5 separate regions of the Homo sapiens genome follow, and all the other regions are linked to region 5. The links are contacts of gene promoters, found by promoter capture Hi-C in blood cells and fetal thymus (Javierre and others, 2016). All regions are on one chromosome and are shown on one strand. Each heading gives the region's core, a stretch centred on a gene start or on the middle of the fragment in contact. The rest is flanking DNA. Distances are from core to core; before and after follow the strand shown. Region 1 has its middle 4.4 kb from the start of HPX. Region 2 holds the start of TRIM3 (tripartite motif containing 3). Region 3 has its middle 5.6 kb from the start of DNHD1. Region 4 has its middle 5.8 kb from the start of APBB1. Region 5 holds the start of DCHS1 (dachsous cadherin-related 1).

The links. Contacts are between HindIII fragments. The CHiCAGO score rates a contact against its expected background, and 5 or more counts as called.
Region 1: a fragment that was not itself captured here is called in contact with the fragment with the promoter of DCHS1 in region 5 in 5 of 17 cell types (non-activated CD4 T cells, activated CD4 T cells, fetal thymus and 2 more); the score reaches 7.1 in non-activated CD4 T cells.
Region 2: the fragment with the promoter of TRIM3 here is called in contact with the fragment with the promoter of DCHS1 in region 5 in 12 of 17 cell types (non-activated CD4 T cells, fetal thymus, naive CD8 T cells and 9 more); the score reaches 10.6 in non-activated CD4 T cells.
Region 3: a fragment that was not itself captured here is called in contact with the fragment with the promoter of DCHS1 in region 5 in 4 of 17 cell types (activated CD4 T cells, total CD8 T cells, naive CD4 T cells and 1 more); the score reaches 8.6 in activated CD4 T cells.
Region 4: a contact is called between a fragment that was not itself captured here and the fragment with the promoter of DCHS1 in region 5, in 2 of 17 cell types (total CD8 T cells and activated CD4 T cells). The highest score is 6.0, in total CD8 T cells.

The regions. Positions count from the first base shown.
Region 1 is chr11:6,444,013-6,446,712 of GRCh38, forward strand. No RefSeq gene overlaps it. Among named protein-coding and RNA genes, the nearest start is that of HPX, 4.4 kb to the left of the region's middle. The HindIII fragment of the contact is 2,129 bases long and covers 326-2,454 here.
Region 2 is chr11:6,472,596-6,475,362 of GRCh38, forward strand. TRIM3 (tripartite motif containing 3) reads right to left here and starts at 1,346. Exons shown (of 12, transcript NM_033278.4): 1 at 1,196-1,346. RefSeq lists enhancers at 7-946, 947-1,885 and a silencer at 1,243-1,472. The HindIII fragment of the contact is 3,557 bases long and covers 183-2,767 here.
Region 3 is chr11:6,490,314-6,493,065 of GRCh38, forward strand. No RefSeq gene overlaps it. Among named protein-coding and RNA genes, the nearest start is that of DNHD1, 5.6 kb to the right of the region's middle. The HindIII fragment of the contact is 4,880 bases long and covers 1-2,752 here.
Region 4 is chr11:6,423,535-6,426,234 of GRCh38, forward strand. No RefSeq gene overlaps it. Among named protein-coding and RNA genes, the nearest start is that of APBB1, 5.8 kb to the left of the region's middle. The HindIII fragment of the contact is 6,341 bases long and covers 1-2,700 here.
Region 5 is chr11:6,654,402-6,657,101 of GRCh38, forward strand. DCHS1 (dachsous cadherin-related 1) reads right to left here and starts at 1,408. Exons shown (of 21, transcript NM_003737.4): 1 at 1,162-1,408. The HindIII fragment of the contact is 4,247 bases long and covers 1-2,700 here.

The DNA.
Region 1 (2,700 bases), core at 140-2,639, 210 kb before region 5:
CTATGTCTATGTCCAGCCTGCTCTGCTGTTGATATGAGTTCTCTGACCTTAGCCATTTCTCCTGGGCCCACTGAGTGCTAGGTGTGCTGGGCCTGAAGTCTGTGGCTGTATACTCCAGGGAGCAGGAACTGAATGTCTCCTTTCCTCAGGGGTAGGAGGCTTAGGGATAAAGCTCCAGGCAGCCAAAGAGCTTGCTGATCCCAGCTGACCCCTCCTCTTGCTCAGTCTATAATGGGCCTTAGTGCTATATATATATATATATAGCATGTATATAGCACTTGCTATGGTTTGAATGTTTCTGTCCCCTCCGAATTGATGTGTTGGAAGCTTAATTCCCAATGTGCCAGTGTTTGGAGGTGCGGCCTCATGAGAGGTGTTTAGGTCATGAGAGCTCTGCCCGATGAATGGATTAATGCTGCTATAAAAAGGGCTTTCAGAAGTGGATTCTCTCTCCTCTGCTTTTCTGCCACGTGATGAACAGCATTTGTCTCCTCTAGAGGATGCAGCGTTCAAAATGCCATCATAGAAGCAGAGACCAGGACCTCACCACACACCAAACCTGCTGGGCACCTTAATCTTGGACTTCCCAGCCTCCAGAACTGTGAGAAATACATTTTTGTTCATTATAAATCATCAGTCATGGGCATTTTGTTATAGCAGCACAAACAGACAAAGGTAGCACTATGAGTCCCGTTTTATGAATGAGGAAGCCAATATTAGGTATCTTAGCCAAATCACATTGCTAGCAAGTGGCAGAGCCATGATTTAAACCCTGGGTGCCTGACTCCTAGGGGTGTGTTCCTACAAGGATAGTGTGTTCTTATCAAGGGGTTCGCTGGCAAATATTTAACAACTGCTCTCTAGGGGGAAAAAGCACTGATTTGTAACATTTGCAGATTTTTGTGATATAAATACTCCTACCATGGCCAACTTTAAGCTACCGACAAGACATCACCAAATGTAGAGTTGGGAAGGGATGTACAGTAACACACTGCATACAATATTCCTACCATACAGATATGATAGATATAAATAATCACAAGAGCACAGGGGATAGTAAAATGTAGTAAAATAATTAGGAAGTGATTACTTTTAAGTACTGATTATCTTTGGTTTTAATAGAATGTATTTAAGTTTATATAGTTTGATTTTTAATAATAGCTGTGTTTTAACAACCAGCTCTCAAAATTCTAAATTTGACAATCAGCTCTCATGAGCCAGCTCCAGCACCCCACAGTCTACCATGCTGCCTTTGTGTACAGGACAAGGATCCTACCTGCTTTAGTCACTGCTATATCTTCAGCACTGAGAACACGCCTGAAATACTGTATGTATTTAATAAATATTGAATCCTATTATTCCTACTTCCTAATTATACATAAAATCTGTCCATTTCTCTCTGCCTCTTTAGTAATGCAAACACCACCTTTTCTTGTGTGACCATTGAAATAGCTCCTCTACAACACATTCTTTATAACAACCACAGTGATCTTTAAAAACGTATCTGAGATCACCTTATGCTCCTGCTTAAAATTTTTTCTTGAAGTCAGTTGTAATTTTTTTTTTTTTTCTTTTTTTTTTGAGACAGAGTCTCACTCTGTCACCCAGGCTGGAGTGCAGTGGCGCGATCTCGGCTCACTGCAACCTCCGTCTCCTGGGTTCAAGTGATTCTCCTGCCTCAGCCTCTCGATTAGCTGGGACTACAGGCGCCTGCCACCACACCTGGCTCATTTTTTGCATTTTTAGTAGAAACAGGGTTTCACCGTGTTAGCCAGGATGGTCTTAATCTCCTGACCTTGTGATCTGTCCACCTTGGCCTCCCAAATGCTGGGATTACAGGCGGGAGCCACTGCACCTGGCCGAAGTCAGTTGTAATTCTAATGTATACACAGTCTTCAAGAGGAACAGTTTAGAGAAGTTGAATTGTTTTCTGATTTTCTTTCTCAATTCTCTTCCTACCCCACAGAATCACTGCCCAGTTTAAAGTTTGTTTCACAGGGCATCCCTTTCATCCTTATCACTTAAACTTTTCAGTGGCTTACTGTCATACTCCAGACCAAATCCAAGCTCTTTATCTTAGTTAAATGATCGAAGTCAGGCCTAATTCTCCAAACTTGTTCCTTTCCTCTCTCCTTCCACCCTCCTTCCTCTCCAGTCACCCTGGCCTCCTTTCAGATTCTCAAACACATCAAGATCTCAACCCCTCAGGATGTTTGTACCTGTTTTTCCTTTGTCTGAAAATCTCTATCTCCTTTTCTTAACACAGCTAGTTCCCTACCCACCCTGCTCCAACCCTACAGGTCACTGCTTAAAGAGACTTTCCTTGTCCACTCTATTTAACACTATATTGTCTATCATTGTATTCTGTTCATTTCCTTCACAGCTTGAACTCAAATTGTTATTACACATTTAGTTCCTTGTTGCTTACTTGTCTCCCTTCTCCACTAGACTATAAGCTTAATAAGGGCAGGGACCATTTCTCTGTATTCCCAGGGCCCATTACTCTGTCTAATATTAAGTGCTCAACAAATACTTGTTCAATAAATAAATGAACCCGCAGACCACAAATGGCCATAGGGCTGTTCTGGTCACCAGACAGCCCTATATGAGCAAAGTGTGAACCCTTGCAGGACCACAAAATAACATTCTGACAGCAGGGGCTTTGCTGTGACCCCCAAATCTGTGACAATCATTCCAGAC
Region 2 (2,767 bases), core at 96-2,595, 180 kb before region 5:
TGTCTCCTAAGTGGCTGTGGCAGTACCTGGCACACAGGAAGTACTCAGTATATGTTGGTTACAGGAGAGCTCTGTTTAAATCTCTGCAGTTCCCTTTCATCAGAGAGAGATGCAAAAGTAATGGCAGTAACAAGACAAGTGAATAAAGTCCCAAGAAGAGAGACCTCTGCTTAATATAAGGAAGCTTTTCCACAGCAGAAAGTAGCAAGTGCTCTGTCACTGGAGGCATACAAGCCCAAGGAGGCAGGGCTACTGTCAGGCCTGCAGCTCTGATTCCAATTCTGCAGCAAATCATCCCCTGCTTAGGGGATGAATGGGCACCAGTGAGCTAGACAGACTGGCCAAGGGAGACCTGTGATGTTTTCTGCACCTGCTGTGACCTCCCAGATGTGATCTTCCTGCTAGGGCCAGTCCTGAGTTTCTGTTGTCCACATCAGAGAACCCCCACACCAAGAACAAGCCCAGGGCCTGCCCTCAGTCGAACTGACCTCCCTGGGGTGCAGCCTGCCCCTCCAACCTGCAACCATCTGTCCCTGCAGGTTTGCAGCCCAGGATCTGAAGCCAATTGCAGAAGGGAGGAGGTCAGAACCAGGGAGGGGCCTGGGGTCCTCCAGGCAGGGCTCAGGCTACAGGAGAACCAGAGGGGTCCTTTCCTACAAAAAAACAGCCTCCACATGAGGCTTTCTGTCCACAGAGCAGTGCATGGGGAGGAAAGGGTGTCCTCCATCCTGACTGGTGGGCCTGTGGGTACCAGAGGATGGAAGGGGCGGGGGGTGGGGTAGGGTGGGGGTGGGGGAGCAAGGGGTGGAGGTGTCTGCACCAGGGAGAAAAGAGCCCTTCAGACAAGATGGGCCACAATATTCCAGAGTCCCACTCAGCACGCACCACCACCACCACCCTCGGCCGCAGCGTTCAGCACCCTCCGCCAACACACACAAGCTCCCAAACCCCGCGCTCCCCTAAGGAACCATCACCCATCCACCCGCGCCTCCCCGCCTCAAAACAGGGACCTCACGTGAGCAGCCACAGCCCGAAGAATCCCCCTGCTGCTCTCACGGACATGGACACGCCTCACGTGGGCAGAGAGAGGCACAGCTTTTGAAAATCATCTGTGCCCCCACCCACAGACGCTCCGACCCAGACCCGGGCTGACAGGAATACAAACGCACCCTTGGGGCCCGCCCGTCGCACTCACCGCGTTGGAACAGGATGCGAGGGCAAAGCTCGGACTGCGGCCACTCTGAAGGGCCCGCGGCGCTGCTACTGCTGCCAGCGCCCGTCCGCCCGGCCCTGCCCGCGCCTCCGCCTGTCCCCGCGCCGGCGCCGCCGCCGGACTAGCCGCACAGGCCGGAGGGAGGGGCCGGGGCGGGGCTGCGGACCGGCCGGGGGAGGGGGTGACTCCAGTAGGGAAGACCCACCCACGCCCCGCCCGCCGCCGCGGAGGCCCCGCCCACCCCGCCTGCCCACCCCTACCGCACCCGCACGCCCCCCCGCCAACGCCTCCACCTCCTGCGGACGCTGCCTCCTTGGTGCTGCTAGGGAGCCGGCGGGCCGGCGAGCCGGATCCCGGATCTCGGATCCCGGATCTCCGCCAGCTGCCTCCGGCTCCGGGAAGGGCGGTGTAGTCGGTCTCAGGGATTGAGATGAGACTCCGTCAAGAAAAGGCAGCTGGGGCAGCAGGGATTTCGGACTCTGGGAGCCTGTCTGGGCCGCCTGCCTCCTGGAGGCGCCCTTTCCGGCTTCCTTGGAGTGCTCCTATGGAATATGCTAGTCTATCGGCTGACCAGGAAGACGTAGAAACCGTCTGTACCTCAGCACGATCTCTGGGCGGCAGAAGGGCAGTACCCAGAACTCTGGGAGAAGGAGTTAAGGGGTAGAAAGGTGGGGGATTTGATTAGGCTTTGGGCGCTTCAGGAGCCCCCTCCTGAGGAAATTCTGGTTCAGACCATCCAGCGACTCCCTTCCTCACACCAAAGACACTGGACAATTCTCAGAATCATCGCCTTGTGCAAAAAGCAGCCCCAAGTGGAAAATAATTGTAACAGTTTACAGGGACTGAGTGGTTATTATGTGCCGACACAGAACTAGCCACTTTACATATATTATTTAATAGTCAGTAGGTAGCATCTTTTATTAGCCCAATTTTACAATGGGAAAAAATAGGGATCTTGCTCCCCAGACGTTAGCCCTCATCACTCAGCTAGAAAGTGGCAGAACCTGGAGTTGAGCCCTGTTTTTAGGCCCTACAACCAGCATTTGGAGACTCGGTACCTTTCATGTTGAAAAATCCCCAGTGGCCCATTAAGTGGCAGCTCATATAAGGACCACCTTCCCTGCCCCAAAAATCAAGCTCTAGTCAGATGATTGCAGGCTGATCAAAGCCCAGAAGACTGTCTGGGAGCTGCAGTATCCATGACAAAGGGCAAAGTCATGCCTGTGAGGATCCCTGCACTATGGGAATCTGCTGAGTGGGTCTTCCCCTTCCTCCAGCCTTCCAGAGGTGGGGAAAATCCTGAAAAATTCTGGTTTCCTTGGCCAAAGGGCATACAGGTGATGACACCTAGCCCTGACTAAACCAAAGTGCTGTTAGGGATCTTTCTTGTGACCTCTCCACAAGGTTCAGATTTAGGCTCAACACCTGGGTGCAGCAGGAGCTTTGGGAACCGCCTCAACCTCTTATCCACCTGAGTTCAGCACATAGCACAAGATGCTCCAGTGCTTGTGAAGGAAACCCAGACGGGGATCATGCTTGCAGTTTTGGGCTGGG
Region 3 (2,752 bases), core at 128-2,627, 160 kb before region 5:
TTAAAAAAGGAGTCCCTGCAGCTCCAGCACGGAGACACAGGGGCTCAACAGAGTGCTTCCTAATAGCTTTTTGTCTTGAGTCTAGACCCCTTTTGATTAGTTAGGAATTAGCTTAGTTACATGTAATAGAGATTCTGTTTTTCCTTTTCTGGGTATGCCCCACATTCATCTATATATTCACATATTCCACAGATATTTGAGTGACTGCTTTTACCAATTTTAGCTTAAGCCCTGCAGATACAGAGCTGAACGAGAACGTTCAATCCGTGTTCTCTTGAAACTTAACGTAGTTACGTGAAGGTTAATATAGGACCAGTAATCACAACTGTGATGAATGTTATAAAGAAGAAATGCATCTTGTAATGGAAACATACAGAAGTGCAAACTTTTTCTGTTTGAGGGATGAAGGAGAGCTTCACTGGAAGTGATTTTGAAGCTGAGACCCAAAGGATGAATTAAAATTAACCAGACAGGCCTGGCATGGTGACTCACACCTATAATCCCAGCGCTTTGGGAGGCCAAGGCGGGAGGATTGCTTGAGCCCAGGAGTTCGAGACCAGCCTGGGGAACATAGTGAGACCCCATATCTACAAAAAAAAAAAAACGAAAACCAAAATATGCTGGGCGTGGTGGCACATGCCTGTAGTCCCAGCTACTTGGGAGGCTGAGGTGTGAGGATTGCTTGATCTCGGGAGATCAAGACTGCAGTGAGCCATGATCACCTCACTGCCCTCCAGCCTGGGTGACAGAGCAAGACCCTGTCTCAAAATAATAAAATAAACCAGACAAAAGATAGGGAGAAGGTCTGTCCTCCTTTCCTTCAAGTCCTTGCTCAGATGTCAGATGTCACCTTTTTATTCAGGCTTACTCTGATTATCGTGTTTAAAATGGTAACCCATGCTCCCTTAGACATTCCTGATTCTCTTTGCTTTGTTTTTTTCCATAACACGTATCACTTCTCACATGCTATGTAGTTTATTCATTTTATTCTTTTTTTTTTTTTTTTGAGATGAAGTCTCGCTCTGTTGCCCAGACTGGAGTGCAGTGGCATGATCTCGGCTCACTACAACCTCCACCTCCCAGGTTCAAGCGATTCTCCTGCCTCAGCCTCCCAAGTAGCTGGGACTACAGGCGCCCACTACCACTGCCGGCTAGTTTTTTGTATTTTTAGTAGAGACGGGGTTTCACTGTGTTAGCCAGGATGGTCTCGATCTCCTGACCTCGTGATCCGCCCGCCTCAGCCTCCCAAAGTGTCATTTTATTCTTTATTATCTGTCCCTCCCACTCGAATGTAAGGTCCATAACTCAGGAATTTCTGTCACTGTTTCTGTTTTGTACACTGATATAACCAAACACTGAAAACAGTGCCTGATGCAGTTGATACTCAATAAATATTTGTTGAGTGAAAGGAGGCAAGAAAGAATAGTCCCAGGGCAAAGGTATAGAACTTGCCTTTAGAGAGAGAAAGAGCATCTCTAATTGGTAACAGTAAGGAGGGAGGAATGGATAAGAGCAGATCTAAATGATTTTAAAATTTAGCATTTGGAGATTGAGAGAATTCCTTTTAAATAGCATGTGATGGTTAGTTTTGTGTGTCAACTTGGCTAGGCTATAGTACCCAGTTATTTAATCAAACCCTAATTTGGGTGTTACTGTGAAGGCATTTTTATAGGTATGGGTAACATGTACACTTAGTTGACTTTAAATAAAGGAGATTACTCTTGATAATGTGGGTCTGTTGAAAGCCTTCAGAGTAAAACTGAGGTTTCTCAGAGAAGAAGAAATTCTGCCTCAAGACTGCAGCATCGGGCCAGGTGCAGTGGTTCACACCTGTAATCCGAATGCTTTGGGAGGCCAAGATGGAAAGATTGCTTGAGTTCAGGAGTTCAAGGTTGCAGTGAGCTATGATCTGTACTCCAGCCTGGGCAACAGAGTGAGGTTTTGTCTCTAAAAAAATAAAAATTTAAAAAAGAGGAAAAAATAAGACTGCATCATTAACTTCTGCATGAGTTTCCATCATGCCAGCCTGCCCTACAGATTTTGGATTTACCAGCTCCCACACATGTGTTAGCCAATTTCTTAAAATATATGTCTTTATATGAATATATATATCTTATTGATTCTGCTTCTCTGGAGAATGCTGATTGATAATACAGCATCTCATTTTTTTTTCAAATAGAAGGTAAAGTCATCATCTGAGAATAAAGCAGAAGGAAATGGAAGATGAGAGAGTACAAGAGGTTTGAAATACTGATTGCCCGGAATGGAAGAGTGAACTGACAAAAGAAACAGAGTTTTAGGCAGTGTTGAGGGTTCAGCAGAGCTTGCTGAACAGAATTCCTTTCTGTCTTTGTCTGAAGAGCTTTGATTGTGTTTTTTTGTTGTTTTTGTTTTTTGAGACAGGGTTTTGCTCTGTTGCCCAGGCTGGAGTGTGGTGGTATGAACACGGCTCACTGCAGCCTTAACCTCGTGGGCTCAAGTGATCCTTCCACCTCAGTCTCCCAAAGTTTTGGGATTACAGGAATGAGCCACCGCACCCACCTTTTTCTTGTTTCAAGGCCTTAAACTTTAAGGACTATTGTGACTCAGGTACCGTTCCTTGCCCTTTTATGAAAGAGTTGTCCATGCTCTTTATTCATGCCCTCACTGAATCCTTTGTCTTGTTCATCGTTATGTCAAAATTAATAACAACTAAACACTTAACAATTATATCAAATGTCTACTACTTACCAGGCTCTATTCTAAAGCATTT
Region 4 (2,700 bases), core at 157-2,656, 230 kb before region 5:
TTTATTATGAAGAGATGGGGGTCTCACTATGTTGCCCCAGCAGGTCAGGAACTCCTGCACTCAAGCAATCTTCCCACTTTGGTCTCACAAAGTGCTGGGATTACAGGGGTGAGCAACCAAGCCTGGTTCAACAGGACTATTCCAACAACTACCTAGAAGAGTATAGAGTGAGAAGAGAAAAGGACTGAGAACTGAACTCTGGAATGCCAGTGTTTAGGAGCCAGCACAGAAAAAGACAGTCAAGAAGAAAGCTGAGAATTAGCAGAAGGGTAAGAGAAGGATCAGGAGAGAGTAATGTCATGGAAGAAATCCAAGAGAGGAAAGACTTTCAAGGGGGAAGAAGTGGTCAACAACATCAAATGCAGAAAAGATTTCCAATAAGGTCAAGGCAAAAAAAAAAAAAAAAAAAACGTATCCTTTGAATTTGGCAACATGGAGGTTATGGATCCCCATGATTTGATCTGTATTAGCAGAAAATGAAGGCAGAAGCCACAATGCAATGAATTGAGCAAATGGAAAATGAAGAAGTAGAACAAATAAGTGCAGAGCCCCCTTTTGAGAAATTTGGAAGAAAGAATAGACAGTAGCTGCAAAGGTATGTGAGATTCTCCTACGTGAATCCTTGAAACAAAAAAAGATTCAGTTTTTGCAGTATGGAGGTGCCCCAAAAAACTAAAAATAGAGCTACTATGTGATCCAGCAATCCCACTGGTGGGTATATATCCAAAGGAACTGAAATCAGTATGTTGAAGGGATAGCTACATGCTCATGTTTATTGTAGCATTATTTACAATATCCAAGACATGGAATCAACTTAAGTGTCCATCAATGGATGAATGGATAAAAAAAATGTGGTTATAGACACAATGGAATAGTATTTCATCCTTTAAAAGTGGAGATATCCTGTATTTGTGACAACATGGATGAACCTGGAGGACCCTATGTTAAATGAAATAATCTAGACACAGAAAGACAAATGCTACATGATCTCATTTATATGTGGAATCTAATAAAGCTGAGCTCACAGAAGTAGACAGCAGAATGGTGGTTGCCAGAGGCATGGGGGTATGGGAGGGGCAGGGATGGAAGGGAATGGGGAGTTGTTGATCAAAGGGTACAGTGTTCCAGGTAGACAGGAGGAATAAGTTTCGAGATCTATTGAATAGCAAAAAGGCTAAAGTCAATAGCAATGTATTGTATATTTCAAAATAAAGAGAATAAATTTCAAATGTCTCACCATAAAAAATTATAGGTAGGGGAGGTGAGGGATATGTTAATTAGCTTAATTAATCTTTCCACATTGCATACGTATATCAAAACATCACATTGTACCCCATAAACGTATATTGTGATTTCCAATCAAAAACAGTATTAATAATAAAAAAGGAAATTGAAAAATAAAATGAAATTCTCTGGTAAAATGAATCAGGTAAAAGAAAATATTCTGTTTTGCCTTTTTAATAAAAAGATGGTAGAGACTTGAACATTGGGTGTAAACTACTAAAAGATATCAGTAGATATGATGAATTTGAAAAAAAAGAAAAAAGATGAGAGATCAGGAGATCCTGGAGATGATGAGAGAGGGTTGGATCAAAGGCTCACGTAGGAAAATTGGACACCTTACCTTTACAGACTGAAGGGAGAGGGGTGAGGAGAGGGGTGCATGTAGGGCAAAAGGTGGGAGTAGTGCAGAGGTTGAGGTATTTAATACCTAGTGATATCAATTTTTTTTTTTTGAGATGGAGTCTTGCTCTGTTGCCCAGGCTGGAGTGCAGTGGTGCGGTCTTGGCTCACTGCAACCTCTGCCTCCCAGGTTCAAATGATTCTCCTGCCTCAGCCTCCTGAGTAGCTGGGATTAAAGGCACCTGCCATCATGCCTGGCTAATTTTTGTATTTTTAGTGGAGACGGGGTTTCACCATGTTGGCCAGGCTGGTCTCGAACTGCTGAACTCGTGATCTGCCCACCAAAGTGATCTGGCCTCCCAAAGTGCTGGGATTACAGGAATGAGCCACCACACCTGGCCAATATCAATACTTTTAAACTCTTTAGCTGAGGAAGAGAAGGAGGGTTGGATGGGGAACAAGAAAACCTTCACAAGATAAGTATTATCCCATCATGAACATCTGTTGTTGCCATTATTATCTGCCCAGTAACCCTTCCCCCTTTTATTGGTAATAGCACATCTGTTTTCTTTGGAGACCCATCCTCTCCCCACTCTTTGTCCATGTGGTTCAGATGGGAATCATCATAGTCCCACAACCCACTTCAGTGGTACGTTCCTAACCCAGGATTGGCCTATCTAAGTTAAAGTGATCAATTCAGAGGTAGGCACATGACAAAATTTGAGCCAGTGAAAAATCAGATCCAGGAATTTTCCTGGAACTATTGGGCAAGAGGTGCTGATAGAACATAAGCCTGAGGGACAAGGTGCCACAAGGAAGGATGAACCTTCCTAAGAATGACGCTAACTCAAAGAAAGCAAAGCAAGGGATGGAGATAGGTGCCTAACAATATCAAATTAACCTGTAGATTTACCTTTTCCATGAAGTTGAAATCTGCCCATAGATTTTTTTAGCTCTTTAAATCAATAAATTCCCTTTTTGCTTACATCACTGTAAGTTGGAATTTTTTTTTTTTTTCCCCACATCATCTTGCTCCGTCGCCCAGGCTGGAGTACAGTGGTGCGATCTAGGCTCACT
Region 5 (2,700 bases), core at 158-2,657:
TCTCCTGAGAGGTGCTGGTCTACTTGTTTGTTGCTGGTGACAGTGTTTCTGGAGAGTGTTAGCAGTAACAATGTCTTCCATGGTATGTGTTGGCCTTGACAATGAACCGGTGGGAGTATGTTGGTTGCAGCATTTCTCCTGTGGGTGTGTGTTGTCATGAGAGCATTTTCCGTAGGTGTGTGTTGGCTTGATAGAGTCTGCTGTAGGTGTGTGTTGGTTCTGACTGGGGGTGCTTCCTGGGGGTGGGCTTCCTGGAAGTGTATGATGGCTGTGAGGGTATCTCTTGAGGATGTGTGTTCCCTGGGACTGTGTCCTCTTGTGGGTTGAGTAGGGCTATGACTGTGTCCCTATGGGTATTTGAGAAGTTGACATAAGCGACAATATTTTTCTGGCCTATGACCTTGTGGCTGTGGGCCCAGCCCGCCACACTGAGTTCATTGTGCTTCTAGACCTCCCTCTCCCCACCCCCTCCACGTGGGACCCACGCCTGCGGTGACCTTGCTCTGTCCCCTGCACGGGATTCTGAGCTGGGTATCCCAGACACAAACTCCCAGTTGCTCCAATCTCCCACTCAGAACACGTCTGGGTGACCCCCCCCTCCATCCACTTCAGGCTGTGCCTGCCTCTCCTCTGCTTCTCTGTACTTCTCCCCACTCAGTTTCTTTGTCTCTGTCTCAGTTGGTCTCTGTCACACACCCATCCTCCACATTCTGACACATGGGCTCCCACAGAGCGGGCAACACACCCTCACAGGGACTCGCTCACCATGACACACGGTCATTCTGACCCTCACACCCTCAGAGTGACACGCACATGCACACACAGCCAGAGAGACGCCCAGGGACACACAACCTCCCAGTGACACGCACTGACACACTCCGACGATGCACTGGAACACAACGCTGTCGCACCCCACACCCCCGGCGCACGCTCCCGCCGCCACCCTCCCCGACTCGATGACACACGCACACAAAGACCCCCAGGCCCTGCCCCCACGCTCACGTTCACGCCCGCCCGGGTCCCGCAGGCCCAGGCCCCCCCTCCCCCATTGTCTCCGGCTCAGAACAAAGCCCCCGGCTCCGCCGCCGCTGCCGCAGCCCAGGGGAGGCCGGCGGGCAGGGCGGGCGCGGCCAGACGGGCCGGGCGGGCGCGGGCACTGACCTCCGCGCGACGCGGGCTCCCTCGCCCGGTGCTGGGGCGCCGTCCGGCCGCGGTCAGCCCCCCGGGCAGCGCCCGCTCGCGCGGGGCCTGAGGCCGCGCATCGTCCGCAGTCGCTGTCTCCGAGGCCCGCGATCCCCTCCGGGCAGCCGCCGTCGGTCCGCGCGCCCTTGGCCGTCGATCGGTCCGTCCGCTGACGCCCGGGCGCCGCCTCCTGCACAGCCGCCCCGCCGAGGATGCGAGCTCCGCTGCCGCGGCCCCGCGCCCCCTCCCCTCCCCTCCCCCCGCCCTCCGCGCGGTAACCCGAGCCCCCGCCCCTCCGCCCGCGGAGCCCCCGCCCCCGCCCCCACCCGCGCTCCGCGCCGCCGCCCCCCCTTCCCCCCGGCGCCCGCCCGGCCTCCCTCCGCCCCTCCACTTCCCGGCCCCAGGCCCCGGCTCCGGATCCGGCCCCAGCGCCGCGCCGCGCCCCCGTCCCGGTTCCCTTCCCTTCTCCCCGTCACTTCTCCCGTCCTCTCCTCCCATTCGGTTCTCTACGCCCTCTCGTCTCTTCCCCTTCTCGCCGCTCCCTGCTGCTCACCTCCTCCTCTTCCATCTTCTTTCCATCCCCTATTCCCCTCTTCTCCCTCAGTGCCCTGGTCTCCCTCTCGCCCCTTCTTTTTCCCAACCGTCATCTCCATTCCCCTCTGCCTTTCTCCCATCCTCTTCTTCTCGCCCCATCTCCATCATTTTCTCCCCAGCTCTTCTCCCCTTTCTCTTCTCCTTACCCCTTCTGCTTGATCTCTCTCCAGCCTCTTTACATCAGATTCTCCTTCCCCACCTCTCCTTTTATCCTTTTCTTCCTATCCCTTTCTCCCCGTCTCTTCTCCCCACCTTTCTCCCCATCCCCTTCTCCCTGTGTCTTTCGCCTCACCTCATCATCCCCTTTTCCTCACGCCTTCTCCTCATTCCCTTTTCTCACCCCTGCCCTTTTCACTACCCGCTGTCTCTTCCCCTTCTTCCATCGTAACCTCGGCCTTCTCCCCTGTTAGTCACTTTTCATTATCCCATGATTTCTGTCTCTTTTCTCTCCTTCACCCCCAGGCTCCCTTTCCCCCACTTTCTCTTTATCCCAAATTTGAGGGTAGAGATCGGGAGATATTGGAAAGAAGAGCTTTGGGGATGGTGGTCCCACTCACGATATACTCCCTAGAAAAATTAAGTGAGGAGGAAACCGGGCAGGGAAGTGGGAAGGGGCTCAAAAAACCAACTTGGGAGAGAATATGGGGAGAGGGGAAATCAGACAGAGACAAAGAGCAAGCAATCTTAAAGGAACTGGGAAGAGTTCTGACTCCTGTCCTTCTTCCTTAGGACTGCGAGTAGACTGTGAGAAAAACAGGTTTTCTGGACTTGAGATGTGTACAAATGGCACAAAGAAATCAGGAACTTCTGTGGAGAAGGAACACAGTTTCAGCTGAAGAAGAAGGGAGTGTGATTTTGGAAGAGGAGTGAGGGAGAGACTGGGGTCCTTGATCATATCCACGGCGCTTGGGCAGCTGGGTGGAT